Regions from separate parts of the Homo sapiens genome. Here all the other regions are linked to region 2. The links are contacts of gene promoters, found by promoter capture Hi-C in blood cells and fetal thymus (Javierre and others, 2016). All regions are on one chromosome and are shown on one strand. Each heading gives the region's core, a stretch centred on a gene start or on the middle of the fragment in contact. The rest is flanking DNA. Distances are from core to core; before and after follow the strand shown. Region 1 holds the start of JADE2 (jade family PHD finger 2). Region 2 holds the start of VDAC1 (voltage dependent anion channel 1). Region 3 holds the start of FSTL4-AS1 (FSTL4 antisense RNA 1). Region 4 holds the start of CAMLG (calcium modulating ligand).

Region 1 (2,729 bases), core at 37-2,536, 520 kb before region 2:
TGGGAGAAGGTAAACAAGGGCCACGCCCCCTGCCGTCGCCCCGCGGGCGCGCACCCGCCGCTCCGGCCGCCGCCGGTACATTTCCACTCTCCCAGCGCCTCTCCCCAGCTGGACTACCGCGCGGCCCCGGAGGTGGAGGCTGCCCCCGACCCCAGTCCTCACCCCTGGCGCCGAGGCTCCGCACCCTCCACACTCACCTGGAAAGGGTGTCCCCCGCCCCTCCAAAAAAACTGTCTAATTTGTGCAGAGCCTCCAACCCCAGGAGCCGAGCATGCTGCCCCCGCGTGCAGCGCCCGCGTGCACCGGGCCGGGAGAGGGGGCGACAGGGCGGAGGCGGTGGCCCCCGGAAGGTGTCTGGGACCGGACCGGCTGCACGTGAGCCCAGCGCGAGGTCATGTGCACCGGCTCAGCCCGGTTCGGCGCCCGGACGTGCTGCGTATCAACAAAATGAAACTCGGGGAGACAGGAGGGCAGATAGCTCCAGGTTCTCGGAGCCCCCGCCCGGGCCGCTCGACCTCCCCACCGTACCCATCTCCCGCCGCAGCCCCTACGCCCGGCCGGAGCCCGCGGGGAAGTTGCAGCCCTGGCGCGCCCCCGCCCGCCCGCGCCCCCTCGCCGGCCCGGGGGCGCTTTGCCGCAGTCATTAATAAAGAAGGTCGCCAAGCTCACCCTTCCAAAAGTTGTTGTTGCATGCGCCCCTCTCAGCCTCCCCGCACTGTACTCTTTAAAACACGACTGACCAACATGCGCAATCTCTCTCCCCTGTGCTGTGCATCCCCCCCCTCTCCGCGCTGGCTTCCTAGAACAGGCAGCCAGCAGGAGAGAGAGGGAGCGAGCGAGCAAGAGAGAGCGAGGGAGCGAAGAGCGCTGGCAGATCTGTTGCAAAAACGCCAAATAACGTCGTGGAGATGCGCAGGGCCCATCCGCCGGGGGCTGGATCTTACCTTGCTCCGCGGTGCCCCCCTGACGGGCGCTGCCCTCGGCTACGCGCCGCTGCAGGGACCGGCGCGGGAAGGATGCTCCCGAAGCCGGGAGCTCCTGGGGCCGGCGCGGGAGGGCGGGGGGCGCGCATCCATCCGGGGTCGCGGCGAGGGAGGCGGCCGGGCCCGCGGCGTCCCAGGCCCCACGCCCCCCGCCGGGGACGGTCGGCCCGCAGGACCTAAGCCGGTGCCGCTAGGAGTGGGCGCAAAGTAACTCCATGGACGCTACTCACCCCCCCCAAAAAATAGCCTCCAACTGCGATGGCCGCGGTCGGCACCATTCACCAACCCCCTGTGTATGTTTCTGTTTCTTTTTAAACCAAGACTTCCTTGTGATCTCTTTAGAAAAAAAAAATGTGTTGGGGTGGGGGTGGGGTGGGGGCGGGCAGGAGGAGCGAGGGAGGGGGAGTAGCCACTTTTTTCTTATTCACTCGGATCTCCGCTCCCGACACCCCCGTCGCCGCCCCCCCAACCCCCCGCCCAGTTGTTTGGCTCCGGCGGGGAGTCCAGGTAGCGTTGCGGGCCCCGTGGGGGAAGGGTGCCCTCCCTCGCAGCCCCACCACCACGCCTGCTGGCACCCTGGGCCCGGACTCCCCATGGACTCTGGGGCGCCCCTAGCCCGCCCTGTCCCCAGGGCCGGGCCCGAGCGGCGGCTGCGCCCGTGCAAGTCCCATCAGGTCTGCTCACACTTCACACACTCACACACATACCCCGCCCCTCCACTCTTTCACTCACACTTTCTGCTCACACCCCGCCCCCTACGCGCCCCAGACCCGGGCGGCGCCCCCCGCAACCTTAAAAAAAAAAAAAAGCGAGCTTATACTTAAAAAAATCTTTTGGCGCCATATTAATGACGTACTTAAAATTTGCCATTTCTCCCTGCGTCAAAAAGACGTTTCTTTGCAAATAACAGCCTGGAGGCGACACTCGCGGAGGGAACGAGGTTTGCACTGAGCACCCCGCCCCCCGGGGCTCCAGCGCTGGAAGACCCTCGCCCTAGGCCCTGCTTCTGAATCGCTGGTTTTAAAATGCGAATCGAATAAATTGCGTGGCGTTTTGCAGCACCAGAAGTGAGCAGAAAGTGCTGGCAGGAGGGGAGTGGAGGGGCGAACGCGAGTCTTGGGGAGGGGGCGCGGCCCTCCTCCCCGCACCCACTCCAAATGGAAAACTAACATTCCGGGCGGGGGAACTTGAAATTGTAGGCGACCTCAAGAAAAGAGGGGCGGTCCGTAGAGAGGGTCCCCATTGGGCTCGTCGCCCCCTCCCCCCTCCCGGGTGCCTCCTGGCGCCTAGCGCTGCCCCGCATTTCCGGGGGGTGGAGAAGGCAGTGATGAGCGGGTGGGTGGGTGGTTGCACATCCTGGCCCCAGCAGGATTTTGCCCCGGGGCGACCCCTTCCTCCTTGCTCTTCCTTCCCATTACCCCGAAAGGGTTAAAAACCGAGGGGTAACTTCCAAAGGCTGGCACATGGCGAGGAAGCGGGGCGCCCCTCTCCCCACCCTTCGCCTCCTCGCCCCTCCTCCTCCGGCTCCACTTCCCGACTTGACCTTGTGGTGCACAAACAGTACGCTCGGATCCTCGCAGTTTCTGGAAGAAGAGCCTGCGCTCGCCAGGCGGGCGGGCTGTCGGGCTGCTAGCCGGCGGTGGCGGGGCCTTGGGTCTGTTCCCGGAGCCGCGGGCCACACCCACCCAACCCGCTGCGCCCGCCGAGCTCACCTTCTCTCGAGGAAGGAGAAGGACTGGCCTCCTG
Region 2 (2,700 bases), core at 174-2,673:
TGCTCCCAGCCTCAAAACTGGGTTGCACCGGCATCTGTTCCTAGCCCTGTGGGGTTCCTGGAGCCCCGCCTTGTCCCGCCCGGCCTCCCTGAGTTCTTGTCCTCCCCCTGCCCACCAGTCTCAGTGTGCGGGGTGGGGACCACCAGGCTGGGAAGCCCAGAGTTCCCAGGCAACTCGTGCGCCTGGGAGGGTCATAGAATCCGTCCTACACTCCTCAGGATCTTGAAGGGGGCTCTTCCTTACATTCCCAGTCACCCCTCCCCCAGCCCCTACACAGGGCCTAGGTAACCTGTCTGCACCCCACTCCCACTCTGTATCAGCTGCCCTCTTCCTCAGCACCCTATCCCACTGGAGCACCTTTTCCAACTCCAGTCGCCACTTTTAATCTGCCGCCTTTTCCCAGCAGCCAGTCCTGATTGCCTCCTCCGTAGCCCCAGTTGCCCACTGCTTTAGATAGTGTCGCAGCTGGCTGTGAGGAGTGTCCTGATTCTGTAACCCGGCACCTCCTCCACAGGGCCCTAGACGCCTCAAGCCTTCCAGGACGTTTGTTGATCAAAGGCGAAGGATGTGTAGAATCTTCGTCCATCTACGAATTAATTCTCGAAACCTGCTTCGAGTGGGCCTCGCGCGTAACACAGGGGACACTCAGTGGTGAACGAGACCACTCGCTTAGGCCTAGCAGCGAGGTGACCGTTCACTCAACACACACTAACTGGGTCCCGCAGGACACGCCCCGGCTGGTCGCGGGGGTTACCCGGGGTGCCCTCAGTCGGCCGGCCGGCCATAACCGGCGTGATCTCCTCGCGCCGAGAGACCCAGCAGGGACCTCGCAAAACCCAATCCACGTTTTGTTTTATTTTGTCTTTTTGCCTCTCAAATGCATGGAAATTGGCTGCTAGTAGCTTTGCTACAGGAGAAAATCGCTAATCTGTAGTGCAAAATCGGCGCACAGGGGTTTTCTCTGAGATTGTCTAGACGCCGCGCGGGCGGGTCGGAGGCGCCAGACACATTGTATCCGGAGCGCGGAGCTCGGGAGCAACAGTCGCCGCCTCTACTCTGTATCTGCGCCGCCCCAGGCGCCCAGTGTCCGCGCTGGGCCTGGGACTGCCCTCGGGGGATGGGGCCCACGCGGGCTTTGATGGGGGGCCGGGGGCCACTTTGTCCACCCAGGCGAGGCTTGGGTCCAGCGCCGGCCACATCAACTCCCGGGGGATCTAGCAGCGCGGAGGCCAAGCAGGAGGCCCAGGAGCCCCGCGCGTCTTCCATTAGCGCAGGGACCTCCGGGCCACAGCTCAGAGAATCGGAAGGCCTCCTCCCCCTTCCCGAGCGCTGCCACTGGGGCCGAGGTTTCCAGCAAGAACCCGCGTGTCCCTGCGCACGCACACACGGTGCACACGTCAGTCCGGCGCCTCCCCGTGCCCCGACTCACGCAGGTCCTCCCGCGCGCCCGCAACACGCCCGCAGGCTCCTGTGTCTGCTGCCGGGGCAGCGGGGCCCGGAAGGGTAAGAACGCGGCTCGCTAGCGGGATGGGGACCCTGGCCCGGCCTGGACGCTGTCCCGGGCGGGGCCTGGGGGCGGAGCGCGCCGGGCCGGGCGCGCAGGAGGGGAGGCGGGTCCGCGCCGCCGCCGTCCGCGCCGCCCCGCCCTTGGCCCAGCCGCTCGCTCGGCTCCGCTCCCTGGCTCGGCTCCCTGCCTCCGCGTCGCAGCCCCCGCCGTAGCCGCCTCCGAGCCCGCCGCCACATCCTCTGAGGTAGGCGCAGCGGAAAAGGACCCCGGCTTCCTTGCGCCCTGGACGGCGGGGGCCAGGCCCCTGGGGAGCTGAGAGGGAGGCGCTGAGGGAGGAGCGGGCGAGGGGCCCCGGCAGCCCGGCCGCGGGGAGGGATCGCGAGCGGCCGGCGCGGGCCTGGCTGGTGAGCGGGCGGGCAGAGAAGGCCGCACAGGCGGGTGCCGAACAGGTCTGGGCTGGGGAGCGCGAGGCCGAGGGTCCAGAGACGCCTGCGGCTGGCGGCGAGAGGCGGCCCGGGCTTGCGGGCGGAAGTGCAAGGGCGGCCGCGTGGAGGCCCGGCGGGCCGCGCGTCTAGGTGACCTTCCCCGGCGGCGCCCTCTGGCCCTGGATCCCACCAGCGTGCATCCGGCGGGGACCCGTTCGCCGCCCACGCTCGCCGGACCAGGCCAGCGGGCGGGTGCCGGCCACGCTGCCGCCTCGGGGATGAGCTCACGTGACGACCGTGGCCCCGAGTCCCCAGGCCCACGCGCCCTGGCCGGCCCACGCCCGCAGAAGCTGGCGCCCGGCACCGCCCGCCTGTGCCAGAGCCTTCTAGAGCGGAACGCGCCGGCCGAGAGTCGACTTAGGCGGTAGAGGCCGGAGCTCGGGCCTGGGCTGAAGGTTTGGCCTCGGAAAAGGAGGCCCCACGGGGAAGGATGTGGCCTTCTTGGTCTTAGGAGTGATTACTGGTTCGGTCGTTCATTCATTCGCCAAATGCGGCGGTGCATTCTGGAAACTGTTTCGGAGCCTGACTTTGGATTAGAGGCCCGCAGTCTTAGTGGTTTGTACAAGGTCACACAGCTGGGAAGTCCCCATACCTTCGTTTTCTCATCTATAGGACGGGAGCAATTGTACCTCTCCTTCGATGAGTTTTGGGGAATAATAAAATGAATTAATTAGCATGAAACCTTTAGAACAGTGCCGGTGTGGAGAA
Region 3 (3,016 bases), core at 151-2,650, 750 kb after region 2:
CATCTTTGGGTGTAGACTCAGTAGGGTGGGAGAGACCCATAGAGTGGCCAAGCTGACCAAGGCTACCCCACACACAGGAACCAGCGGAGGTGGAAGAGCTGGTATGCAGCACTGTGACAGCCATGCTCCTGCTGACCAGGAGGCCCTGTGCTCTCCACCTCAGCAAGGACCCTTTGCTCCTTCTGATGGATGCCTCTCCTGCCTGCCACACTGTGGCACCCCATGATACCCAGAATGGTGATCTCACAGCCCCTGGGCACTGAGTTCTGCTCTAACTTCCTGTTCGTCTGCACACAGCAGTCACATTGAGGTTTAGTTTTCTCAAAACTAAAAAGGTGTATTGGCCAGAGGAGGCTAAATGGAACCCCAGAGCCTAGAGGGATGCCCAGGTAACCCTGCCCCTGCACAGGCCGGCCCCTCCTGCAAACAAGGAGGATACTACATCAGACTAGGATGTCTCGATAGCAGGACACAGGTCTGCCAGGCACACAGGGAGGGCTCTACCAAGAAAGAGGGCAACCAGGCTTTACAGGAGTCACGGGCCCTTAACCTGGGGTCTGTAGACAGGTTCAGGCCTCTGCTCTCCCTCCCCACTTAACACTTGTCTTCTCTGCTAAGCCATGAGCTCCAGGTTAGCAAGCACTGGGCCTGTTTTTCTTGCCAGTATATTCCCACTGTATCCTGGCTCCTGGTACCAGCTCCATAAATAATTGTTGACTGAGCACTAGCCTAATAGTTCACTTGCTTAAAACTGCTTATTAAGTCCCTTCTGCGTGGTAGGCATTGTATTAGGTGCTGGGGATACAACATAAATAAAACAGATATAGTCTCTGCCTTTATGCAGCTTACAAAGGTGTTTGTTCACACCAGAGAGCAGAACTTGATAACTAAACTGTAATAAAAGTTGAAGCAACATCAAGCAACATAGGCCAGTTGAAAAAGTAAATTACCCACTGACCCGCAGGTAATTAACTAGTAATTTTATTGCCATCCCCAAAATGAAGCAAGCAAGAGGGAATGACAATGGCAGGAAGATTGAATCTGGTTACACGTAAGGAAACAGGAGATTTGGGACAGATGCAAGTGCTCTCTTGTGTGGCTTTGGAGCAAGTCTGGCTAATACAGAGCCACCTGTGCAGGCTGGATGCACCCTGGTGCTCTAAACAGGAATGTCAAGATGAAAGGCTTTAAGACATCCTGTCCCCAGCCTCCCATCCACAAACATTCAGCAGTTATTTGAAAGGATCCCAGAGTGACAATCTCTGGTAGACGGAACAGAGGAGACAAAAAGCACACCATCCCTCCCACCCGCCTTGCCCGGCTCACCAGGATACGCCAAAGCAGCTTCACTCTGTAAACACCAGCCAAAGTCACAAGGTCCGGGAGATGTTGCCCTGTTTGTTCAGGAGACACTGGGCATGCGCACTCCCCCTTGGCTCCTCCCCTACTCGCCAACTTCACAGTGTGACTCTGGTCACAGGGATGGGACCAGATCAATAGACTTTGTCACTCCAATGCCCCAGCTTCTTTGGTGGCACCTAGGTCACCTGAGGGGTTTGTTTCAGGAAAGCACATTAATTTAGAAGGAGAATAATGTGGGAAGAGGCCGCAGTTAGAGAGATGTGTCTAAGCGCCTGGCCTGTGCTCTCTCCAAATTGCCCTCATTCCCAAGCAGGCCCCTGAGCCTGAGTTTGCCCTCCGAGGCTCAGTCAAAAATATTGATGTGCAGGCAGGTTACTGAGCTTTTGACAGGGTTTTTTTCACCAATGGCATCATTTGAAAAATGGCAAATATCCAAGTAGGAATGTGTTCCATTAGTGTGTTTCTGACATAAGAAAACTAACACCAGCTTGACAAGAATTTGAGAAATTTAATTTCTATCACTACAAAGCACCAGAATCCTGTTTGAGAGGGTGCTGATGGGTTTATGAGTGTCTTATCGAGTTCAAGTCAGTGTGAGAAATAGCGCCTGAGATTAAGGGAAACCTGTAATAGGAACTAAAACCCAGTTCTCCAACAACTGAAATGTTATGGCCTCCTGCTTTCAGGAAGGGTGTTTGTTAGCCTGCTTATGGTAAGCCCATTAATTCCCTGTGACTGCCTCTTCTCTCCAAGCTCCAAGACTCAGGGAGAAAGGTGAGGACGGGTGTTTGTGGCATCTCATGTCTGGAAAACCAAGGGTATGCTACTGCACTGGTTTGAAGGGCCTAGAGAGATAGGTCATGGCCTTGAGCCCACCTACTGTGTGCCATGCCTTGTGCTAGGCACCAGAGTGCCAGACAGCCCTGCCCAGAATCCCACTGTGGGACACGCAGCCTAGCTAGTGGTCCAGGAAGCTCTGTCTTGTGCCAACCAACCCACACTGACTTGGGCCATCACTGCAGTGTGACCCATTTGTTTTCATCCCAGGGGGATATCATGGGAAGCCCTGAGCTTTGAGAACCCCCCAACTCCCTTGCCCTCCTCAGATTCCCTACTTGCAGAGCAGCTCTCCAATGTCAGTTCTCATAGCAGGGCGTCAGTCCCTCTGTGGGCACAGACTTCTGCCCAGTAGTGCCAGACAAGCTCCCTGATGGGCTGCTCTGACCCCCAACCCAGCCCTCTCTTTCCAAAGACACCAGCCTCAGTGTGTAGACACATTCTCACCCCAGACACAGCGTCTGGCTGAGCCCTCTCTCACTGACCCCTGATCACACTCTGAGTGCTGGGCATATCACGTTTGGTCGTCCAGGGACCTTGGAAACCTTCCCACATAGTGGCTAATGAGCCCACAGATGGTCAGTCAACACAGGGGCATTGGAGCCACAGCCAGGAGCCAGAAGGACCACTCGTTGCCCCCTAGAGGGCTGCATGTGGCATCTTCATCTTCCTCTCATGTGGCCTGGCTCCCCACCAGAGCAGAGACCAGGCCTGGGGCTTAACTGGTCCACAGCCCTGCAGATGTGGCCAGCGCAGGTGAGGTTCAGGAGATGTGTGATCACTGAACACAGAAGGCCATCTCCACAAATTCCAGACC
Region 4 (2,773 bases), core at 51-2,550, 730 kb before region 2:
AACAAAATATAGAAAGTACCTCAGGTAAGATCATAAATAATGCTTTAAGAATAAATAGCCCGATAGAAAAATGTTTCTTCTATTGTTCTAGAAGAATTTGAAATGGTTTTCTTACCTCTCATTTGAACTGCCTAAAAGTTCAGAGCTATACACCTAAAGCCTTACAGAACAAAAGTCACAAAGATATAAGGAGCTTGCGACCAGTGACTAAAGGCCAATTACTAAAGGAAACACTGGAAACTTAGATAACACTAGGGCGCGCTAATTGCTCAATTATACTCACGTGAAATAAATTTTTTTTAAAGAAAATCATTGGACATGTGTTTGGGGGAGGAAGGAGGCGCTCTCCTTAGAAATGCAGCTCCAGACATCAATCACAACAATATCCCCTCATGAGGAGAGGAAACTCTCAGGTGTGCACTTCGCACTTGCTGGGTCTCTGAAGAATGCTCACTCTCACTTTTCCCACCTTTTCTAGCCGGCCCGTAGGTGACAGTGTTGACGGCACTGAACACAAACACTAGGATATGAGCACAAGAGTCCCTGATACACGTAGGATGAACTAGCGGGCAGTTCAGTAAAGACAGGCTGATGTGGGCGGACAGGAGTTACACAGCAAAAGGCAAAAGAAGGTAGACGCTAGAGAAGGCACTGTAAGGAAAAGCACTTGGAACCTTAAGAAGGAAAGCCATCTTCCTAAGGGGAGCAGTAGACATGACAGTCTGGGGATACAACGTGCGCCCTTCAAGAAAGGCGAGGAGTGGCTAAGGAAAAAAGGGGCTGTTCAACGTAACTGGGAAGAGGGAGTGAGAGCTCTGCAGGCAGGGTGGGGAAAATCTCACGGCGAGGCCCCGGGAAAATTGAGGGGAGCGACTAGGAACATCCTGGGGTTCAGGGATGAGAACTTGGGATATCACCGAAGGGGCGGGACAGAGAGGAAATCAAAGAGCAAGGCTTGGTCAAAAAGGTCAGAGGAGTGGAGGTGGGAGAGGGAAGAATGACCCTGAAGATTCAAGGTGATGGGCGGGAGACTGAGGGGAAATCGAGGCTCTTACCCGCGCCGCTCCCGGGCCTGTGAAAGCCCATGATCCGGTTGATGCGCTGTTCCGAGTTCATGAGCAGCTTTCTCCGACGCAGCTCCGCCCGACGCTGGGAAGCCGACAGACCTGAGCCCGCTGGGACCCCCGGCCTCTCCCCGCCGTCGGTAGCGACGGCCATCGACTCCATCCTCCCGTCCACAGTCTGGGAGGGGTGGCAGTGGCGGTGATGTTGGCCGCCGCTGCGAGGGCGATGACTAGAGGCCGGGCCGCAGGGCGCGCGTCCCCTTCCCACTATAGACCCGCCCCCGAGCGCGGTCCCGGAGCCTGTGAGCTAAGCACTCACGCACCGCCCCACGCGACCAAGCGCGAGGCTCTGGCCGCCATCTTGAGTGAGGGCAGCGCTGGACGCCCTCGTGCCTCCCCAACTCTTCTGGCCCTCACCCAACAGCCCCCTCTGCTGTTCACTCGGAGGTGAAGAAAACCAGCACCCAGGGCCGGGAGTGGTGGCTCACGCCTGTAATCCTAGCACTTTGGAAGGCCGAGGCGGGCGGATCACGAGGTCACGATTTCGAGAGTAGCCTGGCCAACATGGTGACCCCCTCCCCCCTCCCCCCACCCGTCTCTACTAAAAATACAAAAACTTAGCCGGGCGGGGTGGCGCGCGCCTGTAATCCCAGCTACTCGGGAGGCTGAGGCAGGAGAATCTCTTGGACCCAGGAGGCGGAGGTTGCAGTGAGCCGAGATCGCGCCACTGTTCTCCAGCCTGGGCTACAGAGCGAGACTCTGTCTCGAGAAAAAAAAAAAGAAAGAAAAGAAAACCGGGAGTGGGAAAGGGATGGCAGTAAGTAGGTCAGCCTAGATTTGGTGCCAGGAAGCAAAATGGAGGTTGCAGCGGCAGTCGCTTGTTTACAGACCCGCGGCCTCGCCTGTAGGCAATGGGAATACGTAACCCTGGGAGCCGCACTTAAAGGGAGCCTTACGCTGGGATTTGTTCTTGGTGCCTGTTCCTCATCCTTAACTTCTCTACGGCAAAGTATACGGCTGATGTGTTCCTAGGCTTTCCTCGCGTTTTGTGCGTTTTTATTCAAATTAGAATTTCCCATTGAAACCTTTCGTGCACATTCTATCTAAATTGCCAACACTCCCCATTCCCCTTCACCTTGTTTTTTCTCCTTGTCGTTCATGACCACCTCGCATGCTAAAGATGCTCCAGCCTGGGCGACAGAACGAGACTCCGTCTCAAAAAAAAAAAAGGAAAAGAAAAGAAAAAAACAAAAAGGCCGGGAGCGGTGGCTCACGTCTGTAATCCTAACTTTGGGAGGCCGAGGCAGGCGGATCACCTGAGGTCAGGAGTTCGAGACCAGCCTGGCCAATATGGCAAAACCCCGTCTCTACTAAAAATACAAAAATTAGCCTGACCTGGTGGCATGCACCTGTAATCCCAGCTACTTGGGAGGCTGAGGCAGGAGAATCGCTTGAACCTGGGAGGCAGAAATTGCAGTGAGCCGAGATCATGCCACTGCACTCCAGCCTGGGCGACAGAGGGAGACTCCGTCTCAAAAATACATATATAAAAGAAATAAATAAAATAAAATCAGAACAAATGACTGGGCGCGGTGGCTCATGCCTGTAATTCCAGCACTTTGTGAGGGCTGAGATGGGTGGATCACTTGAGGCCAGGAATTCGAGACCAGTCTGGCCAACGTGGCAAAACCCTGACTGTACTAAAAATA

Evidence for each region. The method cuts DNA at HindIII sites, captures the fragments that hold promoters and counts their contacts. A CHiCAGO score of 5 or more calls a contact.
Region 1: a contact is called between the fragment with the promoter of JADE2 here and the fragment with the promoter of VDAC1 in region 2, in 5 of 17 cell types (total CD8 T cells, fetal thymus, non-activated CD4 T cells and 2 more). The highest score is 6.5, in total CD8 T cells.
Region 3: the fragment with the promoter of FSTL4-AS1 here is called in contact with the fragment with the promoter of VDAC1 in region 2 in 8 of 17 cell types (endothelial precursors, total B cells, M0 macrophages and 5 more); the score reaches 11.8 in endothelial precursors.
Region 4: the fragment with the promoter of CAMLG here is called in contact with the fragment with the promoter of VDAC1 in region 2 in 2 of 17 cell types (activated CD4 T cells and non-activated CD4 T cells); the score reaches 7.7 in activated CD4 T cells.

Annotation. Positions count from the first base shown.
Region 1 is chr5:134,524,227-134,526,955 of GRCh38, reverse strand. It overlaps JADE2 (jade family PHD finger 2), which reads right to left and starts at 1,286. Exons shown (of 12, transcript NM_001388185.1): 1 at 945-1,286. It overlaps LOC124901070 (a long non-coding RNA gene), which reads left to right and starts at 1,354. Exons shown (of 3, transcript XR_007058942.1): 1 at 1,354-1,490; 2 at 1,873-2,050. RefSeq lists silencers at 1-816, 827-1,086, 1,117-1,196, 1,327-1,546, 1,567-1,616 and 1 more. The HindIII fragment of the contact is 6,085 bases long and covers 1-2,729 here.
Region 2 is chr5:134,003,698-134,006,397 of GRCh38, reverse strand. It overlaps VDAC1 (voltage dependent anion channel 1), which reads left to right and starts at 1,423. Exons shown (of 9, transcript NM_003374.3): 1 at 1,423-1,503. RefSeq lists enhancers at 580-649, 690-749, 820-939, 2,590-2,639, 2,650-2,699 and silencers at 1,110-1,159, 1,200-1,259, 1,320-2,359. The HindIII fragment of the contact is 5,979 bases long and covers 1-2,700 here.
Region 3 is chr5:133,254,829-133,257,844 of GRCh38, reverse strand. It overlaps FSTL4-AS1 (FSTL4 antisense RNA 1), which reads right to left and starts at 1,400. Exons shown (of 2, transcript XR_007058939.1): 1 at 1,327-1,400. The region is part of intron 6 of FSTL4 (follistatin like 4); the gene reads left to right. The HindIII fragment of the contact is 11,288 bases long and covers 1-3,016 here.
Region 4 is chr5:134,737,075-134,739,847 of GRCh38, reverse strand. CAMLG (calcium modulating ligand) reads right to left here and starts at 1,300. Exons shown (of 4, transcript NM_001745.4): 1 at 1,056-1,300. The coding sequence starts at 1,227. RefSeq lists an enhancer at 1,663-1,712. The HindIII fragment of the contact is 13,475 bases long and covers 1-2,773 here.